2 separate regions of the Homo sapiens genome follow, and region 1 is linked to region 2. The links are contacts of gene promoters, found by promoter capture Hi-C in human tissues and cell types (Jung and others, 2019). All regions are on one chromosome and are shown on one strand. Each heading gives the region's core, a stretch centred on a gene start or on the middle of the fragment in contact. The rest is flanking DNA. Distances are from core to core; before and after follow the strand shown. Region 1 overlaps FRS3 (fibroblast growth factor receptor substrate 3). Region 2 holds the start of NCR2 (natural cytotoxicity triggering receptor 2).

What was found. The method cuts DNA at HindIII sites, captures the fragments that hold promoters and counts their contacts. A contact is called where the count stands out against the background at its distance.
Region 1: a fragment that was not itself captured here is called in contact with the fragment with the promoter of NCR2 in region 2 in 1 of the 25 tissues and cell types used here (mesenchymal stem cells).

Annotation. Positions count from the first base shown.
Region 1 is chr6:41,773,042-41,777,008 of GRCh38, forward strand. It overlaps FRS3 (fibroblast growth factor receptor substrate 3), which reads right to left. Exons shown (of 7, transcript NM_006653.5): 3 at 3,881-3,967; 4 at 2,378-2,564. The coding sequence starts at 3,946. Among named protein-coding and RNA genes, the nearest start is that of FRS3, 4.9 kb to the right of the region's middle. The HindIII fragment of the contact is 6,444 bases long and covers 1-3,967 here.
Region 2 is chr6:41,333,203-41,337,798 of GRCh38, forward strand. It overlaps NCR2 (natural cytotoxicity triggering receptor 2), which reads left to right and starts at 2,406. Exons shown (of 5, transcript NM_004828.4): 1 at 2,406-2,726; 2 at 2,885-3,226. The coding sequence starts at 2,675. RefSeq lists an enhancer at 1,024-1,153. The HindIII fragment of the contact is 17,500 bases long and covers 1-4,596 here.

The DNA of each region.
Region 1 (3,967 bases), core at 856-3,355, 440 kb after region 2:
TCCCTCAACTCCAGTCCCAGGCCTGTAGGGGCAGGAGAGCCTCTCCTCATCTTGAGCATTCTTTTTCTTTTCTTTTTTGAGATGGAGTTTTGCTCTTGTTGCCCAGGCTGGAGTGCAATGGTGCGATCTCAGCTCACTGCAACCTCTGCCTCCCAGGTTCAAGCAATTCTCCTGCCTCAGCCTCCCAAGTAGCTGGGATTACAGGCGCCCGCCATTACACCTGGCTAATTTTTTGTATTTTTAGTTGAGACGGGGTTTCACCATGTTGGTCAGGCTGGTCTCAAACTCCTGACCTCAGGTAATCGGCCTGCTGCGGCCTCCCAAAGTGCTGGGATTACAGGCGTGAGCCACCACGCCTGGCCCTGAGCATTCTTTCTAGGTCTGCTCTAGAATCCAAGAGCTACTAGAAAGGCTGGGTCCAAGGTACCCTGCCCCAGCACGCCCACACCACATTGAACACTCCAGCTATATTGCTCTGAAGCGAAATCATTTTCATAAGGATGTGTGTGTTCAGGGGTCACAAGAAGAGAATCAAAACCAAAGTGGAGGCCGGGCATGATGGCTCACGCCTGTAATCCCAGCACTTTGGGAGGCCGAGGAGGGTGGATCACCTGAAGTCAGGAGTTCAAGACCAGCCTGGCCAACATGGTGAAACCCTGTCTCTACTAAAAATACAAAAAATTAGCCAGGCGTGGTGGTGAGCACCTGTAATCCCAACTACTCAGGAGGCTGAGGCAGGAGAATTGCTTGAACCTCGGAGGTGGAGGGTGCAGTGAGCCGAGATTGTGCCACTGCACTTCAGCCTGGGTGACAGAGCGAGACTCTGTCTCAAAAAAAAAGAAAAAAGAAAAGAAAAAAAACAAAACCAAAAGCCAAGGTGGAAAGGATAGTATTAGATGAGTGAACATTCTTCTTTTATTTTTTCGGAGACGGAGTCTCACCCTGTTGCCCAGGCTGGAGTGCAGTGGTGCGATCTCAGCTCACTGCAAGCTCCGCCTCCCGGGTTCACGCCATTCTCCTGCCTCAGCCTCCCAAGTAGCTGGGACTACAGGTGCCCGCTACCATGCCCAGCTAGTTTTTTGTATTTTTAGTAGAGACAGGGTTTCACCGTGTTAGCCAGGATGGTCTCGATCTCCTGACCTCGTGATCCGCCCACCTCAGCCTCCCAAAGTTCTGGGATTACAGGTGTGAGCCACTGAGCCCAGCCAGGTGAGCGAACACTCTACCTCACATGCTTCCCCCATCTTCCTCTGCCTAACACCCCCTGCTTCCTAGGAAAAAAAACTCCATCCAGAGCACCAGCCCTCAGATCGCTGATGACAAGAGGGTCTACTCTGTTCCCTGCTTCTTCACTTATTAGCCCAGTGTGTGGCCAGAAAGCAAATGCCTACTGTATATAGGTCCCTAACCTCATAGATTAAACTCTGGCACGGGAAGGAAGAAATCATGGGCAGACTAGCTAAAGGCAAACATGGCAAGGCAATCACAAGGCTCCTCAATGCAGCCAGCCTCACAGCCCTTCAAATTGCAACACTGCAACTCAAGGTCCCAGGAACAGCAGGACTGGGCTGAGTGTCTGTCAATCAGGGGACTCAAAGATGCCCTTGGGGTACTGGGCCAGCATGGACTCCTCTGTAACAGGGGGACCTGGGACCTAGGGGAGGCTACGTGGGGTGTGCCTGTGCATATACCCACAACTAAGACACAATTAGCCTGGGGAATGGGACAACTATGGTTTGCACAAATAGGATGGGGAGGAAACAGGGAAGAAAAATAACTACTCTGGCAAAATATGACGAGAAGTAGAAAAGACTGGGAAAGACTGGAGTTGTAGAGAACCCCGTGTTGGGGCCAGGGGTAGCCCCTCTGGGAACCCAAGTGTAGATCAAACATCACTAGGAGCAAGGATGCCTCTGCCTGCTCTGCCTGCTCACCCAGCGCCCCTGCCTCTGCCTCATGAATTCCAAAGGTAAGATGCATGGAGGGAAGTCTCCTCCAGCAAACATGACCTCGGAGGCTCACTATTTTGTTGGCAGCCTCATCAGAGAAGCTTGTTCATTCCACCTCTGCACAGCCATAATCCCAAACTGCACTGAACACAATCCCATGCAGGATTCCTTTTGCACAGCTTAAGTCTGGATCCTAAGAGATAAACTCAGACCATGCCACTTCTTCAGAGAGCTGTGGCTGGCTCTAGCCTTGACCTTATGGAATAACCTACCACCCCTGACCTCTGACTGCAGGGAGAATACATCACACTCTACTGCCCACAGGTGATGGGGATAACACTAACCTCTTGAGGGCTAACCTATACATTAGGAACCCTGGAGTACTGCATAAGCCCCTATCCCAGGGTGGAGCAGGGCCTGGTACTCACCCTGGCCTGTCTGACATCGGCGGCCACTCTCAAAGGAGAAGAGGTTGGAGTCGTAGCCATAGCGCCGCAAGCAGAGATAAGGCCAGCGGACGGCCTCACGCCGATGCAGGTGCAGCACCAGCTCACTCTGCGTCAGCTCCATCACCCCAGAGCCCAGCTCCACCCCCTCATCATCCACATTTGTCACCTGGAGGGGAGAAGACAGAAGGGTCAATGAGTGAGTCCAACAAGTGTTTGCATGGGTCCCTGAGCCACTGGGAGACAATCTGATGCAGGACAAGAGGTGGGGAACCAAAGGTCACATCCGACTATCACAGACTCTACTGAATGCCACATAACTACATGAAGCAGTGCCATGGACCCACGGCAGTTCTCTGGGCAAATCCTACTTCTCTAGTGCTGAGTTTTGTCATATGGACAGTGAGGGAAGAGGTAGGTAGCTGACTTCCAAGGTCGGTTTGTTAGATAACAAATGTTAGACGACCCTAGACAGCCCATGCCTTAGTATCCAAGGGCCAGATGTTAATGGGGAAGGGGTTCAATTGTAAATTCAAAATCTTGAGACTGGGACACCCTGACCTAGGAAAGTCAAGCCCAAGGCAGAACCAATGCACATCTCCTCTACCACCTCCCCAACTGTGTGCCCTTACTGAGGGCTCCCTCTTCTGGTGGGCAGGAGAAACATGTGCTTCAACATGCCCCAGAATGAGGAAGGAGGAGGCTCCCTCTACAGAGAGGTGGGCAGGGGAGAGCACAGGTCGACTTGGGTCTGCCCTCAGCTTCCCACAGCAAACAGCAAACACTGATGTTGTGCTTACTGTGTGCTAAGCACTATTTAATTTATTTATTTATTTATTTTTTGAGATGGCATCTCGCTCTGTCACCCAGGCTGAAGTGCAGCGGTGCAATCTCAGCCCACTGCAACCTCCACCTCCCGGGTTCAAGTGATTCTCCTGCCTCAGCCTCCCAAGTAGCTGGGATTACAGGCGTGTGCCACCATACCTGGCTAATTTTTGTATTTTTAGTAGAGACGGGGTTTCGCCATGTTGGCCAGGCTGGTCTCGAGCTCCTGACCTCAGGTGATCCGCCTGCCTTGGCCTCCAAAAGTGCTGGTATTACAGGTGTGAGCCACCGTGCCTGGCCACTAAGCACTATTTTAAATACTTTACGTATATTAACTCACAAATACAGAATTTTGTTTTCTCTAAAAAAAAAAGGGGGGGGGATATATAAAGTTATAAAAATACACTGACAACAGTTCCAAAAGCACCATTATGGCATTTCTTCATTCTTGGTAGTATCAAGAGCCATGAAAACAGCAGTGGTCTGGGCCTCTTTTCCTCAGGCTACTTGAGAGGGTGTGAGCTCAAGAAGTCTCCATAAGCCCACAACCTCAGCCTGGCATTTGATTTGCTGTTAGAGAAGCTGAGGCAACTCCATTAAATTGTGTCTGAGCCCAAGAGGCCATGTTGGGAACACAGGAGAGGAGAGGGCTCTGGGTACCTTGAACTTGGTGGGGTGGTTGTCTGGAACGCTGTCTCTGTTCAGGCAGCTGCAGCAGCTCCCCATGGTGTCAGAGCAGCCAGCCTG
Region 2 (4,596 bases), core at 1,156-3,655:
TTACAGCTACCCCTTCACCCCTGCCCAGCCTAGCTTAGCCCTGTGCTGCGTTTTGGGGATCACCTCCAGACCTCTACGGCTCCCTGCTTTCCCCATTTCTGCATCAGAGGCCAGCCCTCCCTTCCCATGGACCTACCCAGGCTCGGAGCCACTGTTGCAGGCTAGACTGGGCCTTGCTAGAAAAGCAAGTACATGAAGTCTCCAGCTCTCCCAGCTCCTTCTCTGGGTTCCTGTGAGTGTGTGTGACAATGAGTTTGGGAGAGGAGGTTGCTGAGGTTCCCAAGTTCTCTGAGGGACCTTCTCAGAGGGTGGGCAGGGAACCCAGAATCCCCCAGAACCCCAGGCTCTTTGACAGGACTTTGCTGTGCCCTGCTCTGATCGTGCCAAGGGGGAGGCACTATCCCTAGCTCTTCAAGAGACTTCTGAAAGGGCCCCAGATCCCACCACAGCTACCTGCCCCAGTCCCTCCTGCAGAAATTCAACTTGTGACAAGGGCTGTTGTGGGTCCCCAGGGAGCAGGGCCAGTCCCAGCCTGGATGAGGGGCTGCCTAAGCCCAGGCTTCCCTGCCCCCAGGTCCCAGATGCCAGAGGAAGCTGAGCGTGCAGATGGTTCCAGCAGGGGCCTCCCCCTAGGGTGCTCAAGGCCCCAAGTCTATGTGGAGGGTGCCCACCCCACTCACACAGGTGGGGAAGCCACAACACAGAGAGAGGGGCAGATTCCCCGCTTTGAGAGCTCCTGTCCCCTGGGGAGAGACGACACACTCTGACACAGCAGAGAACGATACAGAGCTGGCTGCAGGCTGAAGAGACACACAGCTAGTGGCACATAGCAAGGGGTGCTCTTGTAAGCTACAAGAAGGAGCTGTCACTTAGAGTCAGCAGGGGTCAGAGAAGGGGAAAGTCAGCATGGGAACACAGTTGCTGACACACACACACACACACACACACACACACACACACACACGGTGACGTGCCTCGGTGCCATCTGAGGACAGGGCCGCCTTCCTCCCCCTCGGGAGGATGCCCCCACCCTGATTTGGTATGTAATTATGTTCAGGGAGAAGCTGGGCCCCACTGTCGGCGAGGAAACCCCCTAAAAGCTCACCTCCGCCTGTGTGTGCAATTCAGTGGGAGCCTCTTTCTCACCCCTGGTTTCCTGTCATGTCTGTGGGTCGCATTTCAACCAGACCAGCCGGAAGGCTCCAGACCGAAGTCAGGAGGCCTGTTCTGGTCCTGTGTGACTCTGAGCAGGTGGCTGACCATATCTGGGCCTCAGTTCTCACATCTGTGAAAAAGAGAAGTAATGTCTCCCTCGCGAACCTGCTGAGGGTCTTGAGAAAGTGTGCATGAGAATGCTTTGTAAATAATGCTTGTGTGAGTGAGTGGCGGGCATCGCTCCCTGAGCTGTCTTCTAGCTCTGGAGCTCCAGCCTGCTTTCCCACCTTGGGCCCTTGGGCGCCAACATCTGATAGCCCTACTGTGTCCTCCTTTTGCATACCCCTCTGCCTTTCCCATTCTCAGTCTCTGCATACTCCTACTGTAAGGAGAAGGGCAGTGTACTGAGATGGAGTGGAGAGCAGGAGTCCAGGGGCAGGCAAAGCAGTGGACTTGGAATCGAGTCCACTTGACAAGTTCCAATTCCCGTCTCAGTTATTACCTCTGTTCACAGAGCTCCCGGCAGCAGATCGCCAGTCCAGCAGAGCCCCCAGTGGTGCAACTGCAATTACACACAGTGTCTCTACCAGTCCTAAGATATATTAGCTCGTTCTCTTTGTAAATTGCATCGTATTTTAAAACTGAATCTTCAAAGTGCTGACATTAACTAAAGAAAAATATGCTAGAGTCTTTCATCTGTTTATGTTTTAATTAAACAATATTTCTCCAGGGTCCTTAAGTGGCAGAGGTCCAGGATGCAGAGATGAGGCCAGGTCCTGGTTCCTGGGCTCCCTCTACCCCACCCCACTGATGCATCCCATGCTCCGTGTGCTCTTCCCACCCTCCCCTCCCCGACCTTTGCCAGGGACCCTCCCTAGCCTCCCTTGCTGGTTTTGAATCTCCACCTCCTCTCCCCTCTCCTTTCCCGCACCCACGAAACTCCCAGAGTGGAAGCACATCACTGACCCACCATGGAGGCCTGGGCATGACGTCCCTGGCCATCCTGTGACCAGTGAGGCTTGGGGCTTGTGATCAGGGTTCCAAGTGCCCCTGAGTTTGTCATCCACCCTCAGCCTGCCTTTCCCTGGAAAGGGCGGCAAAGCTAGGGCCCTGCAAAGAAGAGAGGCAGCACACAGAGGGAGCAAGGGGGAAGCAGTCCATAACTCGCCCACAGTTTCCTCCTGGCCTTTTCAGCTCCTCCCTCAGGGGTAGGTCATGGTGGGGAGGGGCAGCTGGGCACAGGGGAGAGCAGGCATCTTCTACAGAGGCCTGGGAAGCTGTGTGCCAGACAGCGCCGAGCCCACCAGACCCAGACTCACCTACAGCTGGAGATCCCCACTTCCCTGTGCCCACAGAATCTGCCCTTTGCAGTCTCCCATCTCCCCAACCCAGGCCTCAGCCTGTCTCATTTTTCTATCAGACGTGCTGGAAGAGCAGCAGAATCAGGCCCAGCTCCCAATTCCCTCTCCCCAGTCTTCTCCAGGTGTCCCCTCCCATGAGCGCACAGGAAAAGGACCACATGGCCTGGCGAGCCCTACACCCACTGCTACTGCTGCTGCTGCTGTTCCCAGGTGAGGGGGAGGAGGAGCCCAGGGAGCAGAGGAGATGGGTGTGGTGGGGACTGTCAGGACAGCAGGGTCAGGGAGCAGGTGGCTCTGTGGCCAGAGGCCTGCTGTGAGGCAGGTTGTGCGCGTGGCCTTGACCTATGCGTTACTTCATCATTCTCCAGGCTCTCAGGCACAATCCAAGGCTCAGGTACTTCAAAGTGTGGCAGGGCAGACGCTAACCGTGAGATGCCAGTACCCGCCCACGGGCAGTCTCTACGAGAAGAAAGGCTGGTGTAAGGAGGCTTCAGCACTTGTGTGCATCAGGTTAGTCACCAGCTCCAAGCCCAGGACGATGGCTTGGACCTCTCGATTCACAATCTGGGACGACCCTGATGCTGGCTTCTTCACTGTCACCATGACTGATCTGAGAGAGGAAGACTCAGGACATTACTGGTGTAGAATCTACCGCCCTTCTGACAACTCTGTCTCTAAGTCCGTCAGATTCTATCTGGTGGTATCTCCAGGTGAGCTCTTTCCCTAGGGTCCTCAGAGGGGTGCCCCTCACCCCCTTTTGGTGCCTCCATCACCCCTGGTTTCCCAATCGTGGAAGCCACCCATGCCCACGCCCCAGTCTCCTGGGAAGGCTGTTGGGAACAGGTGCAGGGGGAACTCATATGTGCACAAGAGCAGCCATCTCACAGTCTGCATGACTCCCAAGCCTGCAGCCTGGGCCTCCTGAGAGATGCTGAAACAGACCCGGTGAGCATGCTGACCAGTCAGCCTATATGACCCTGCTACAGGAGGGCAGGACCACCCGGCATCTTTGGTACATAGTAGGTGCCCAGGAAAGGTGCATCCACTGGCTGCCCCCACCATGTAGAGCCAGTGGTATCTGGGTAGTCTAGATACCAAGATACTATGGGTATCCCTCATAGTCCAGATCGGGGACTAAGAATGAGTGAAAAAAACTAAGAATGAGTGAAAAAAAATCAAAAGAAAAACAATATTTTGTGACATACAGGAAATTCAAATTTCAGTGCCTATAAGTGGAGTTATTTTTTGGAACACAGCCATGCCCACTCAATTACCTATTGTCTGTGGCCCTTTTCATGCTGTGACAGCAAAATTGAGCAGCTGTGACAGAGACCACATGGCTCATCCCTGACCCTTTACAGAAAGTGTGCCAAACTCCTGCTCAGAGCAGAGCTACCCACAGTTCCTGTGGAAGAGGACCTTCTAAAAAAAAATCTGCAATTCACATGAGTAATTTTTTTTGTAAAATACAGTAAAAAAAAATTACTAGAAAAATAAGAAAAAGATATATAAAGTACAAGCCCAACATTTATTAAATTTGACAAACATAAAATTACATTTTAATGAATACAATCAGAACAAATATCACATAGGGAAAAATTTATAAAAACTGTATACATTGTTCATTTGAAAGTGTGCCTAAAGGTGATTGATGTAGTGGCTTAACGGTATACCCATAACGTTTTGTCATTCCTCAGTTAAAACTAAGTACAAAGCTAGAAGGGAAATTGCAGTTCTCCATATTAAATGCCAATATGCACCCTTCAAACAAACACCCTGTCTTTCCGTTTTTAAGGATTATAATGTGACAAATGAGCACTTTTCTTACTTGGTAACTTTCCTAATCTGAGAACTATTTATGACACCACATCACTTAGGAGATAATGTATAAAGAAATTGTGTTGATTTTTTTTAAAATAATACTCACAGTAGAAGCCCAGAAAACTGGTCTCACGGAGGTATAATGTCAGAAATAGAAGAAATTTTAAAGCAATTCCGACAAGCTCAACAGTTTTATATTTAACTTTTACAAAAGGAAGCAAGCGATGCTGTAATTTCAAAATGCATCTTCAATCCTTTA